2 separate regions of the Homo sapiens genome follow, and region 1 is linked to region 2. Evidence: promoter capture Hi-C in 16 types of primary human blood cells and fetal thymus (Javierre and others, 2016). All regions are on one chromosome and are shown on one strand. The core of a region is centred on a gene start or on the middle of the fragment in contact, and the rest is flanking DNA. Distances in the headings are between cores, read along the strand shown. Region 1 holds the start of NECAP1 (NECAP endocytosis associated 1). Region 2 holds the start of ING4 (inhibitor of growth family member 4).

Region 1 (7,059 bases), core at 114-2,613, 1.4 Mb before region 2:
CATATCCTTTAGGAGTCTTAACTCCTAAAGTTGGAAGTAATGAGCTATTTGACCTTATTTAACAGTTCAATCAATGCCACTTTATGTGATTAGGTTTCTCTGTGTAATCTACTGATTTCTTCTTTCAGTCAACATTTACAGGGTGCCCAAAGTGTACCAGATACTGTGCTAGACCCTGGGAATATAAAGTTAAAAAGATCTCAAGTTGTTCACAGTCTAGCCTGGAGAAAAAAGGAGACTAAACAATCCATTGTACAATCCACTGTAATCCATTACAATACAAAATGAAGAGCCCTGGAATAGAGATAAGAATAAAGTGCTATGCAGGAACAGAAAACCAAACACCACATGTTCTCACTCACAAGTGGGAGTTGAACAGTGAGAACGCATGGGCACAGGGAGGGGAACAACACACACTGGGGCCTCTCGGGGGAGGGGCGAGGATGACAGGTTGATAGGTGCAGCAAACCACCATGGCACATGCATACCTATGTAACAAACCTGCACATTCTGCACATGTATCCCAGAACTTAAAGTAAAAAAGAAAAAGAAAAAGGTGCTATGGAAGCACACAGGGTGCATATCTAAACCAGAATGGAAGGGTCACATAGGGCCTCCCAAAGAAGGTGATGTTTAAGTGACTCATATAGTACCTGTAACTACCATCTAAAAGCATGTTGATTTCTACTTAGGGTCAGTTTGGGGTCCAACTAAAAGCTTATTAAAAACAGAACTGCTACCTCTTTGCCAAAGGTGCAACCCACAGGGCCCAGCGCACAGGTCAGCAAGCATAAAAATATTGATTCATGATGAATAAAACGCCAGTAAGGGGCAAAATAACAGACATAAGGAGAGGGTAACTTTTCAGCCAAGGTAATGATAAATGCCAGGAGGAAAAATCACAATGATGATGTGGGTCAGAGAGAAGAATAAGAACAGTATCTTGGCCAGGTGCAGTGGCCCACACCTGTAATTTCAACACTTTGGGAGGCTGTGGCAGGAGAATCACTTAAGGCCAGGAGTTCGAGACCAGCCTGGGAAATATATCAAGATCCTGTCTACACAAAAAAATTTAAAAATTAGCCAGGCATTGTGAGGCAATGCCTGTAGCCCTAGCAACTTGGGAGGCTGAGGTAGGAGGATCCCTTGTGCCCAGGAGTACACAGCTGCCGTGAGCTGTGATTGCACCACTTGCACTCCAGCCTGGATGATAGAACGAGACCCTGCCTCTCTAACAAAAAAAAAAAAAAAAAAAAACGACGGCTGGGCGTGGTGTCACGCCTGTAATCCCAGTACTATGGGAGGCCAAGGTGGGCAGATCACAAGGTCAGGAGTTCAAGACCAGCCTGGCCAACTTGGTGAAACCCCATCTCTACTCAAAATACAAAAATTAGCCAGGTGTGGTGGTGCATGCGTGTAATCCCAACTATTCAGGAAGCTGAAGCAGGAGAATCGCTTGAACCCAGGAGGCGGAGGTTGCAGTGAGCTGAGATTGAGCCATTGCGCTCCGGCCTGGGCAACAAAGTGAGACTACATCTCAAAAAAAAAAAAAAAAAAAAAAAAAAGAACAAACAAATAGTATTTGTAACTGCTTTATTGCATTTCCTACATTCTTTCACATCCATTATATGATTTAATTTTACTCTCCCAAAAACCCTTGTTAAGCACATTATAAGAGCGCAGGTATCATCACTAACAGGTTTTTTTTTCTATTTTACAGATGAGAAAATTGAGGCTTGGAAAGGGCTCACACTCATATGGTTTAACATGAAGCCCAGTGAACTGTCTTTCAACTACATAATGTCCTATAGCATCCTCAGAACCTCACAGTCATTGGATTACAAGGTAGGTAGTTAGGCCCAACAGAGAAAAATGCTGCCTCAACTTTGGAGGGAAAAGGTGTAGGAGAGGTTAAGAAGGGAGGTAGGGAAGGAAGACAGAAAATACTATATAATCATCAAGAAAATACAATGAGAAGAAACAGAATGAACAACCGTTGTAAAGCTTATGATCATAACCTTTGCTCACTGGTAAAACTGCTGAAGGAAAAACCGAATGGTGGATGATGACAGTTGGTGACGAAATTGACAACAGTACAAAAAATAAATCAGATAATCCAGAGTGGCAAGCAACACGATTACCCATAAATGTGCATGGGGAACTGGAAAGGTGTGTGTGTGTGTGTGTGTGTGTGTGTGTGTGTGTGTGTGTGAGAGAGAGAGAGAGAGAAAGGATGAGGATGATAAGCTGAAGGACGCAGGGAAGAGCGAATGAAAGGGGACTGGCAATGGAGCAAGCACGACTGAAAGTGCATGATGGGGAGCAGATGGGTGCCCCAGGGGATTACGGGAGAGGCAGAGTGGAATAACGCAGAGTGGTAATTTAATAAAAAACAAAACAAAAAAAAAAACGGCAGAAATATGGTGATGACAGTCCAGAGTGGAGATGGAGCAGGTGGTCAGGGAGATGACAACCCAGGTAGGGAGGCTAGCAAGGTGACAATACAGAGGTAGTAGTGGCAGGGACGGACAGCGTGCTAGCTGAGAAGGAAGCTGTCATCTGCGACAGAGTACGCGTGTGCGGCAGCGCCTCGGGGTTAGTACCTGTAACCGCGGTTGGAGGCCCGGGGCGGAATCCGGTAGACGCTGACGTCTGGCTTCACACACAGCACAGACTCGTACTCCAACTCGGTCGCCATCTTGGGTCCGCTGTCGGCGCTGCCGGGGGCGAAACGTAAGACCGGAGGCGGAGCACGGGAGGCGGAGATGCAAAGCGCGACAACTTCTGTTGCGTCACTTCCGCGCGAGTTCAAGTTAGTTTCTGAGATTAACCTTTTCGGTGACGCGGGGAGCCATATTGAAACCTGGAAACGATGAGGCTGCACGGCTCACCGTCTTGGATAATGGCAAAGATGGCCTGCAAGTGCGTGACTCTCGTTATGGAAATCTCTGTCCTGGAGAGGTGCTTACGAAAAGCGCCATCTTACTCTAGGCAGGTGCCTGGAGTGTCCTACGAGGACGAGGACCATATTGAATCGTGACGGATTTTCTTACAGGAGTCACTTCCTAACTGTAGTCTCCTGGCAGAAAAGAGGCAACCTCCAGCCGGTAGTCCCAGACGAGGTACCTGCAGAGAATGATGTATGATCTGGTCATAGACACCGTGGATTTCAACTCTCCAGAGTCTAAACGCTGAAAACACCCAACTTGATTTAGTGCCTTACACTCTTTATCTCCGATTTTTCAGGACGACACCTGTTAAAATGTTTTGCCACACTTTCGGCGTGTATTCCGATTATCTTTTTGGAAAATTTGATCCTGTTAAATAGACTATACGTGGGATCAACCCAATTCCTGATAAAATCGGAAGCATAATGAACTATCTAATGGCCTATATTAGCTCCCAGTTCTATTATAATGATAAATGCTACCGAACTCTCACCATAAATATGCTTTTTCTGCGCCCCAAAGGTAAACTTAACCACAACACCCTGACAGTACAGATAGCAAGTGGCAAAACTGAGACAGAAACTCAAGCCTGCCTCATTACAACAGCAGCAGTCTTCACCGCTGCTGGAGCTGGCAAGGTCACCAAGTCTGCCCAGAAAGCTCAGAAGGCTAGATGAATATCATCCCTAATACCTGCCACCCCACTCTTAATCAGTGGTGGAAGAACGGTCTCAGAACTGTTTGTTTCAACTGGCCATTTAAGTTCAGTAGTAAAAGACTGGTTAATGAAAACAATGCATCGTAAAACCTTCAGAAGGAAAGGAGAATGTTTTGTGGACCACTGGTTTTCTTCTTCAGAAGGAAAGGAGAATGTTTTGTGGACCACTGGTTTTCTTTTTTGCGTGTGGCAGTTTTAAGTTATTAGTTTTTTAAATCAGTACTTTTTAATGGAAACATCCAAAAATTTGTCACAGAATTTTGAGACCCATTAAAAAAGTTTAATGAGAAAAAAAAAAAAAGCAAACCTGCCTCTAATTTGTCTGCTCCACCTTGGAAAGTGATATCTTAAATTTCAAAAAGAATTACCACATTTATCCCTGGCGAGGACGTGAGGAACAGTCTAATCTCATACACTGTTGGCAGGAATGTAAATTGGCACGGCATTTTTAAAAGGGAAATTAACAGAATTTATCAAAATATTAATTGGACGTAATCTTCAATTTAGCAGTTTCACTAATAAATATTGTAGAGAAATCCTTATATGCACAAAAAAGTATGTACAATAATACTACAGCATTGTTTGTAATAGTGAAAAAAATGGAAACAAAATGACCATCTATCAATGGGAAATGGTTAATGGTATATCTATTACTATGAGATGTTTTGAACTAAAGGGTTAGCCATTGAAAGAGATCCAAGATTTTTTAAAGCCAACTGCAAAAAACATACAGCATTATCAACTTTTGTCGAAACACCCCAAAATTATATATGCATGCATGTAAATGCATTGAGAAGGCTTTCAAAGGATATAAGGCTAAGTGGGGGAAAGAAACTTATTTTCTCCTCCATATATTTCTCTGTTGTTTAAGATTTATATAGCTATTATTGTCACTGAATACATGTTAAAAGAAAAATAAAGACAGAAAAGTGGTTTATTACTTGTTGTTCCTTATTTCTGACCCTATGATCTCATCTGAAGCCTAGGTCATATGACTACACCACATTGTACCTCTTTTTTTTTCTCTGTTCTGTGTTATCACTGGCAATCATTTTTGGAGGATTCTGGCTTCTGGTTCACCTTCTTACTAGTTTATACTCTTCCTCTTCTCCCAAATCTTTTAGAGATTTCAAAGCCCATATAGTTAACTCTTCCTAGCCATACAATCTCTTGACATAAATTCTAACTATCTTTACCTCTCTTTTCTACCTCACCTGTTCTTCTTCATGTTCTGCACATTGTTAGCCTTCTCTTTATTCCTCCCATCTCCTTGTTTCAACAGTTCTCTTGCCAGCATCCTTAAGTTTCCTTTCCTCTTTGTCTTTCCATCACAGCCAACCCAAAAGACTCCAGTCTTATATATTCCAACCATCTCCCTCCATCATTCTCCAAAAGCAAATCACACAATTATAAAGATTGGTGTCCCTAAAAGTTTATGGGTTTGAGTCTCAGCTTTGCCCTTAACACCCAGATTTGCCATTGCTAGTTTTTATTTTCATTCCCTTTAATGGTTGTTCCAAATTTTGCTGCCCTTTCAGGCCTTCAACTCTAAGTCTTCTCTTTTTCTTTCTTGACAGGTAAAACATCTTACTACTTCCCTAAGAAAATAAAGTTTGTGTGAACTCTCTCAACTTAATGACACCCTATTCATACTCCTATCTGCATCTTCATCTATTCTTTCTCCTATCCACTTGTGTGTGCCCTGGATTCTCCTCAGGGACCAATCTCCTCAGGGACCTGGTTAATCAGTTATCTCCTTTCTTTCCTGTATCTTAAAACTCATTTTCCATTCACCCCTTTCCCTCACCATGTAAGTATATTCAAGTCCTTTCACCTAAAAAAAAAAAAAAAAAAAAACCCTTACTTAACCATGTTTTTTCTTTATATAAATTTAAATTTCCCTTCTCTTGCTTCATCTCAACAGAAACAGAAAAAAATACAGTCTTCCTCACTCTCACCCACGATGTCTTCTCTAGCTTAACTGATCACATTGCCATAATTTTCCATACATGCCATTTTTATTCATGCTGAACATATTTGTCCAGACTGAAATGCACTTCCCGTTCATTCCTTGGTAAGATGCCTTTAGATCTAATCTAAATATCAATTTATCTCAGAAGTTTTCCTCAACTTCTCTAAATAGAACTGGTAACTGCCTCCTCTATGCTCCCACAACATTTGTACAGCTGTTTTAGTTCTTAGCACATTGCATTCAACTGCTTGTTGGCATCTCTGTTTTCCAAGGGAAAGAAACAGGTTTGTGTTTTCCCAGTATCTAGCACAGTTTTCAGACTATAGTAAGAACTCTGTATGTTTATTTGCTAAATGAATGATCATTTCAGCCTGCCTTAACAGGGATGATTTGTTCTTTCCCAATCAAAATAATTAAAAATGTCTTGGGCCGGCACAGTGGCTCACGCCTGTAACCTCAGCACCTTGGGAGGCTGAGGCAGGCAGATCACTTGAGGTCAGGAGTTCAAGACCAGCCTGGCTAACATGTTGAAACCCTGTCTCTACTGAAAATACAAAAACTAGCTGGTCATAGTGGTGCATGCCTGTAATGCCAGCTACTTGGGAGGCTAAGGCAGGAGAATTGCTTGAACCCAGGAGACGGAGGTTGCAGTGAGTCAAGATCATGCCACTGCACTCCAGCCTGGGCTACTGAATGAGACTCCGTATCAAAAAAAAATAAACTAAAATAAAAAAATTAAAAATGTCTTGTCTCGAACTTATCTTTGCCCACCACCGGGGGGTAGTAGCTACACAGCTCACAGGTTCTGGGCTGAGTAGACTGTGCTAAGTCAAGCTAGTGTTCTTGTATGTGGCTTTGTAAGTATATGATTTAACCAAGTTTAACAAAAGCTTGTTTTTTTAAATGCATTGTTGAAATTCATGGAGGCCTTACCCATCTCAAATCTTGGTCACTTTTAGATGTCATTTAAACATGAAAATAACTTATGGTTTTCTTAACTTAGCCCTACCAGTAACATATTTCCCAGCTCTTCTTTACGCACACACAAAAAGGTATTTATCACAGATTAAATTCTGACTTATCATTGCTCAGGGTACTGCTATCAATGGTATTTGTTAAAGTATAATTTTCCTAAATCCTGAAGTTGCTACACATGCAGTGGTAATAAAAATTGTAATGAGATTCGAATCATAGTTTACAGGATTTTTTTTAGCTAGAGTGGACCTTAGTAACCTTTCAGTTCAGATCTCATCCAAAGACATAGTTGGTGATGCAGTCAGGATCAGAACTTCATATCTCATGATTTACAAACTAACACTCTTTCCACTGTGAGATAGGTAAGGCCTCCATCAATTTCAACAATTCAAAAAACGAACATTTTTTAAAGTTGAAAACGCTGTGTTGGTCTTACCATGATCTCA
Region 2 (6,557 bases), core at 381-2,880:
AGTAAACCTGGGGTTTACAGGCTACAGATCCTTTCAGCTCTGATACCCCCACCACTCTACAGCCCCTGAACCCCCTCCTCCAGCCTGCTCTTACTGTCCAGATAATGTTTCAAATACATCCCTGCATCCATCTCGAAGCAAAACAAAGCAACTTCCAATCCGCCCCGGGTTGGAAGTTCCTCTTCTCCACATATTTGGTAGAAATTATATAGCTGAAAGTCTGTCTCTTTAAAAACTTGCCGTAAGACATTGGTAATTCTTATGAAGGATGTGTGAGGGTACGAAAAGTGTGAGGGGTGGCAGCTATCTCTAAAATACTATCTTACTAACACCACTATTAGGTTATGGCCTTTGTGTTGGCAGTGTGTTGACAGCCTAGTGTGTTGGCAGCCTCTCATACCCTTGACTGCTTCCCATTCTGATGAAAACCATAGAAATCACTCTACCATAGCTGACTAGAGTGATGGCTAGCAACTAACTAGCCAACTAGCCCAGTAGTGATACTGCTGCATCCCTCAATCCCTTCAGAATTATGATGCTAACATCACATATAAACAAAAGGAAAACAAAAACACGAGATTTCCCCCTTAGAGAGTAGCAAGAGGGGCCAGGCACAGTGGTTCGCACCTGTAATCCCAGCACTTTGAGAGGCTGAGGTGGGCAGATCACCTGAGGTCGGAAGTTCGAGACCAGCCTCACCGACATGGAGAAACCCCATCTCTACTAAAAATACAAAATTAGTCTGGCGTGATGGTGCATACCTGTAATCCCAGCTACACGGGAGGCTGAGACAGAAGAATCACTTGAACCCGGGAGGTGGAGGTTGCGGTGAGCCATGATCACGCCATTGCACTCCAGCCTGGGCAATAAGAGTGAAAATTCTGTCTCAAAAAAAAAAAAAAAAAAGCAAGAGGGCAAGGCAGGAAGTAATATTTTATATGTGAAAGTGTATTCTAGTGTAACGTACAGGAGCTCTGACAAAAGATGTGCAGAATTATAGCTTTATTATGAGTCATTCTTTGTATTTATAAGTAGAAAGGTGATCATCTTTCTCAAGTTAAAAAAATAATGCTGGGGGAGATGGTGTTTGTGTGAGTGAATAGAAATTCAGACGGTTTAAATGTCTCAAGGCCTGATACTCTTCCCCAACTTCCTTAAGAAACTAACTGGCTTGAAAAAAGTCATTCTGCAAAAGAGGGAAAAAAAGTTGGATCTTCCAGTTGCTGAGAAGGTATGTTTACGCAATATGAGCCTAAAGTGAACAGTTACCCCTGCACGGATTACCATACATTCCCGTTTTGGAGGGAAAAAAGTTTGCTAGAGAATGCAAAATGGCGACCTCCAGTGACGTCATACCTGTCTCGGTCGCGTCCTGGGGTGTCTGTAAGGGCGGAAGCGGGCTACAGCCGCCTCACTGTGGGCGGTCGTGGCTACCATGCAAAAGGAAAAGTTTCAGTGTCGGGCGGATGTGTACCGGCGGTAATATAGTAAGGGCGGAAGTTCTCCTTTAAGGGCGGAAGTTCTCCTTTTAAGGGCGGAAGTTCTCCTTTTAAGGGCGGAAAGGCTTTAGCCGCAAAATGGCTTCGGCCCCTGTCGCGTTACAGTCACTTCCGGGGCGGATCGGAAGTTGCTTTGTTTTGCTTCGAGATGGCTGCGGGGATGTATTTGGAACATTATCTGGACAGTAAGAGCAGGCTGGAGGTGGGGGTCGGGGCTGCAGAGTGGTGCGGGGATCAGGGATGAGAGGATCTGTAGCCCTTAAGTTCCAGTGACGAGAAGGTCACAATTATGAAGCGGTTCTGTGGCAGGAAATATTGGAGGGTGCGGAGAAAGAGGGGGCGGGGCAGCAGGATCGAGGCCCCGCTGATGGGTGTAGACGAGGGAGGGGTGCGGTGTGGGGGTTAGAGACGTGTCTTGAAGGGCTAGTGTGCATGGCCAGGAAGATAGTTGCTGCCCCCATTCTCCAGGGTCTCCAGCCTCGGTAGATTTTTTTCCCCATAGTCGTTCAGAATCGTTATCACACACTGCCATTTGGAGAAGCGGTAAAGACCTCTCCTCCACTCCATTCTTCCTCAAAAGTGGCTTCTCATGGGGTTGAGAGTGGTGGTGATGAGTGACCACTGTCAGATGATGAACTAGAACGCTTCTCTTCATGGAGTAAAGATCTAATTCCCATCAAATGAAAATCTGGTGTTTATGCGATTTATGTAAACCACCCCTGCAGAAAGCCTATTGCTCTGTGCGCTTACATTTGTTTTAGGGCCCGGAGTCATTTATTCAACAAATATTTATTGAGGTCCTGCTATGGGTCAGACATAATGGCAGGCACTAGGGATAGAAAAATGAGTAAGACAAGGCTCCTGCCCTCAAGAAGCTCACGATCTAGTAGGAAACAGATTCTGCAAATAATTATAAAACACTGTGACAAGTGAGATAATGGAAATACATTAAAAAGGACACTTGGTAGGCAACCCTGGAGAAAAGGGGGGTAATTACCTGGGGATGTAGGAAAAGCTTTACAGCGGAGGTGATGTTTGAATAGGGTCTTGAAGGTTATTTGCCAGTGAGGAGAGAAAAAAGGAATTCCAGGTTGGGGAAAGCATCCGCAAAGGTACTGTGATGGGTTTGTGGCAAGGTCAAGGGTGTTTGATATTTATGACTCAGAGGTCAGCGTATTTGATATTTATGAATCTAAGGTAAGAAATTGAGAAAGGAGACTGGAGAAAGAGGCTGAGGCTAGATTGGACAAGGTCTTTTAAGCCAAACGAAGAAGTTTGCATTTTAAAGTAGAGTATGATTTTTATAGAGGAAAATGACTAATATATGGTAAATTGGAGCATGATATTGTTGATAACAGAGATCAATTAGTGATAACATTCCAGGACAGAGATAAGAACCTGATTTTAGGGAGTTACAGAAGTATTTAGGAGTTAAATATGAAAGGACTGACTGAATGACTGAGTGGTTGAGAGAGAAGGAAGAATCTAAGGTGGCTTCTTCCTGCTTAGAAAGTGAGGTAGACAGGCTGGGCACAGTAGCTCATGCCTGTAATCTCAGCACTTTGGGAGGCCAAGGCGGGCAGATCACTTGAGGTCAGGAGTTTGAGATCACCCTGTCCAACATGGTGAAGCCCAGTCTCTACTTTAAAAAAAAAAAAAAATTAGCTGGGCATGGTGGCATGTGACTGTAATCCCAGCTACTTGGGAGGCTGAGTCAGGAGAATCACTTGAACCCAGCAGGTGAAGATTGCAGTGAGCTAAGATCATACATACCACTGCACTCCAGCCTGGGTGACAGAGAAAGACTCCGTGTCCCTCTCAAAAAAAAAAAAAAAAAAAAAAACAAAGGCTGGTGGCCAGGCACGGTGGCTCATGCCTGTAATCCCAACACTTTGGGAGGCTGAGGCAGGCGGATCATGAGGTCAGGAGATCGAGACCAGCCTGGCTAACATGGTGAAACCCCGTCTCTACTAAAAATAAAAAAAATAGCCAGGTGTGGTGGTGTGCCCCTGTAGTCCCAGCTACTTAGGAGGCTAAGGCAGGAGAATCGCTTGAACCTGGGAGGTGGAGGTTGCAGTGGGCCGAGATCATGCCACTGCACTCCAGCCTGGGCAACAGAGTGAGACTCCGCCTCAAAAAAAAAACAAAAACAAAAAGGCTGGGAGCGGTGGCTCACGCCTATAATCCTAGCACATTGGGAGGCTGAGATGGGTGGATCGCCTTAGGTCAGGAGTTCCAAGACCAGCCTGGCTAACATAGTGAAACCCCGTCTCTACTAAAAATACAAAAATTAGCTGGGCGTGGTGGCAGACGCCTGTAATCCCAGCTACTTGGGAGGCTGAGGCACAAGAATTCCTTGAACCTGAGATTGCGCCATTGCACTCCAGCCTGGGCGACAAGAGCGACACTACACCTCAAAAGAAAAGAAAAGAAAGTTACTCAGCGGAGAAAAGATCATGCCAACTGCTGCAGAGATATTTTTTAGGATAGGCTTAATAACACCATTAGATTTGGTAAATCACCAGTGACTCAGTCTTGTGAACTGGTGGTAGCAGACCTGAAGTTGTAGGTTTAAACAGTAGAGGCATTTTATTTTTTTTTATTTATTTTATTTTAGTTTTTCTGTTTGTTTGTTTGTTTTTGAGACAGAGTCTCACTCTGTCACCCAGGCTGGAGCGCAATGGTGCGATCTTGGCCCACTGCAACCTCTGCCTCCCGGGTTCAAGTGATTCTCCTGCCTCAGCCTCTTGAGTAGCTAGGATTACAGTGCCCGCCACCATACCCAGCTAATTTTTGTATTTTTAGTAGAGATGAGGTTTCACTGTGTTGGCCAGGCTGGTCTCAAACTCCCAACCTCAGGTGATCCACCCACCTTGGCCTCCCAGAGTGCTGGGATTACAGGCATGAGCCACCGTACCAGGCCTTTTATTTTTTATATATATATTTAATTTTTATAGAGACAGGATCTGGCCATATTGCCCAGGCTGGTCTCAGACTCCTGAGATCAAGCGATCTACCTGCCTTGGCCTCCCAGAATGCTGGGATTACAGGCGTGAGCCACTGTGCCCAGCAAGTAGAGGCATTTTTAAAGTTTTAGGTGGAGTCTTGGCAAGAGATTTCTCTTGTACTGGGGTGACAAATATTCATGCATTTATTCAAGTATTTACTGAGTACCTGCTCTTTGCAAGTCATAATTCTAAACACTATGGAAACAGGAGAGAATATGATAGCCATGTTCGGCCTGGGGAGACAGATACCAAATAACTAATTACACATTATTTTTTTTAATTTTTTTGTTTTTTGAAACAGTCTTGCTCTTTTGCCCGGGCTGCAACCTCTACCTCCCTGGTTCAAGCAATTGTCCTGCCTCAGTCTCTTGAGTAACTGGAACTACAGCCACAGGCCACCATGCCCATCTATTTTTTTTTTTTTTTTTTGAGACAGAGTCTCGCTCTGTCGCCCAGGCTGGAGTGCAGTGGAGCGATCTCGGCTCACTGAAAGCTCCACCTCCTGGATGCACGCCACTCTCCTGCCTCAGCCTCCCGAGTAGCTGGGACTACAGGCGCCCGCCACCACGGCCAGCTAATTTTTTTGTATTTTTAGTAGAGACGGGGTTTCACCATGTTAGCCAGGATGGTCTCAATCTCCTGACCTCGTAATCTGCTCTCCTCGGCCACCCAAAGTGCCGGGATTACAGGTGTGAGCCACCGCGCCTGGCCTAATTTTTGTTTTGTTTTGTTTTTGAGATGGAGTCGCACTCTGTCACCCAGGCTGAAGTGCAGTGGTGCGATCTCAGCTCACTGCAACCTCCACCTCCCGGATTTAAGCAATTCTTGTGCCTCAGCCTCCCAAGTATCTGGGATTACAGGTTTCACCATGTTGGCCAGGCTGGTCTTGAACTCCTGGCTTCAAGTGAGCCACCCGCCTCGGCCTCCCAAAGTGCTAGAATTACAGGCATGAGCCACCGTGCCTGGCCCTAATTTTTGTATTTTTAGTAGAGATGGGGTTTTGCCAGGCTGCCAAGGCTGGTCTTGAACTCCTGGCCTTGAGTGATCCACCTGCCTTCCAGAGTGCTGGATTACAGGCATGGGCCACCGCACCCAGCCAACTAATTACACATTTATTTAATTACAGTTGGATAAGTGCTTTAAAAAGGTGGCTAGAATACCTTGACATAGATCGAGGGCAGTTAACAGAGTCTGGGAAAGTTGAGTTTGAGCTGAACTTTGGAAGAACGAACAGGAATTTAATAGGCCAAGAGGGATGGGGTGGATGGGATGAGGAAAAGCGAGCGGTGCATTCCAACTAGAGAGAACAGCATGTGGAAAGCCAAATGGCAGGAGGAGCACAGGCCAGTTTGAGGCAGTGCGAGGAGGCCAGTATGGGCAAAGCAGAGCACAAAGGGAGACTGACATGAGTTCAGGCTGGTGTGAGGTAAGCAAGGGCCAGAAAGCGCAGAACATCTTCAGAGCAGTAGGAAGTGACCAGAAGGTTATAAGCGGGAGAGTGACTTGATTAGGTTTGCATTTTTTATTTTTGTGTTTGTTTTTGTTTTTGTTTTTTTGAGTCAGTGTCTTGCTCTGTCATCCAGGCTGGAGTGCATTGGCGTGATCTCGGCTCACTGAAATGTCCACCTCCCAGGTTCAAGGGATTTTTGTGCCCCAGCCTCCCAAGTAGCTGGGATTACAGGCATGTGCACCAAGCCTGGCTAAGTTTTTGTATTTTTGGTAGAGACAGAGTTTCACCATGTTGCCCAGGCTGGTCTTGAACTCCTCAGCTCAGCTGATGCGCCCACCTGGGCCTCCCAAAGTGCTGGGATTACAGGCATGAGCCACCGTGCCTGGCCAGGTTTGCATTTTTTAAAAAGGACATTCTGGCTACTATATGGAAGTAGATTGGAAGTGTTATGTGTATAATAGAGGATACCAGGAGACTATTTGTAATTTGAGGACAAAGAGCTTGGAGGCAGAGATGGAAAATAAAAGAAAGGGGCCCGTCTTAGTGGCTCATGCCAGTAATCCCAGCACTTTGGGAGATCAAGGCGGGCGGATCACCTGA

What was found. The method cuts DNA at HindIII sites, captures the fragments that hold promoters and counts their contacts. A CHiCAGO score of 5 or more calls a contact.
Region 1: a contact is called between a fragment that was not itself captured here and the fragment with the promoter of ING4 in region 2, in 1 of 17 cell types (non-activated CD4 T cells). The highest score is 9.2, in non-activated CD4 T cells.

Annotation. Positions count from the first base shown.
Region 1 is chr12:8,077,928-8,084,986 of GRCh38, reverse strand. NECAP1 (NECAP endocytosis associated 1) reads right to left here and starts at 2,713. Exons shown (of 8, transcript NM_015509.4): 1 at 2,604-2,713. The coding sequence starts at 2,698. RefSeq lists enhancers at 2,471-2,530, 2,601-2,820, 2,252-3,451. The HindIII fragment of the contact is 1,287 bases long and covers 720-2,006 here.
Region 2 is chr12:6,658,192-6,664,748 of GRCh38, reverse strand. ING4 (inhibitor of growth family member 4) reads left to right here and starts at 1,630. Exons shown (of 8, transcript NM_016162.4): 1 at 1,630-1,684. The coding sequence starts at 1,648. RefSeq lists an enhancer at 1,600-1,659. The HindIII fragment of the contact is 5,227 bases long and covers 1-2,516 here.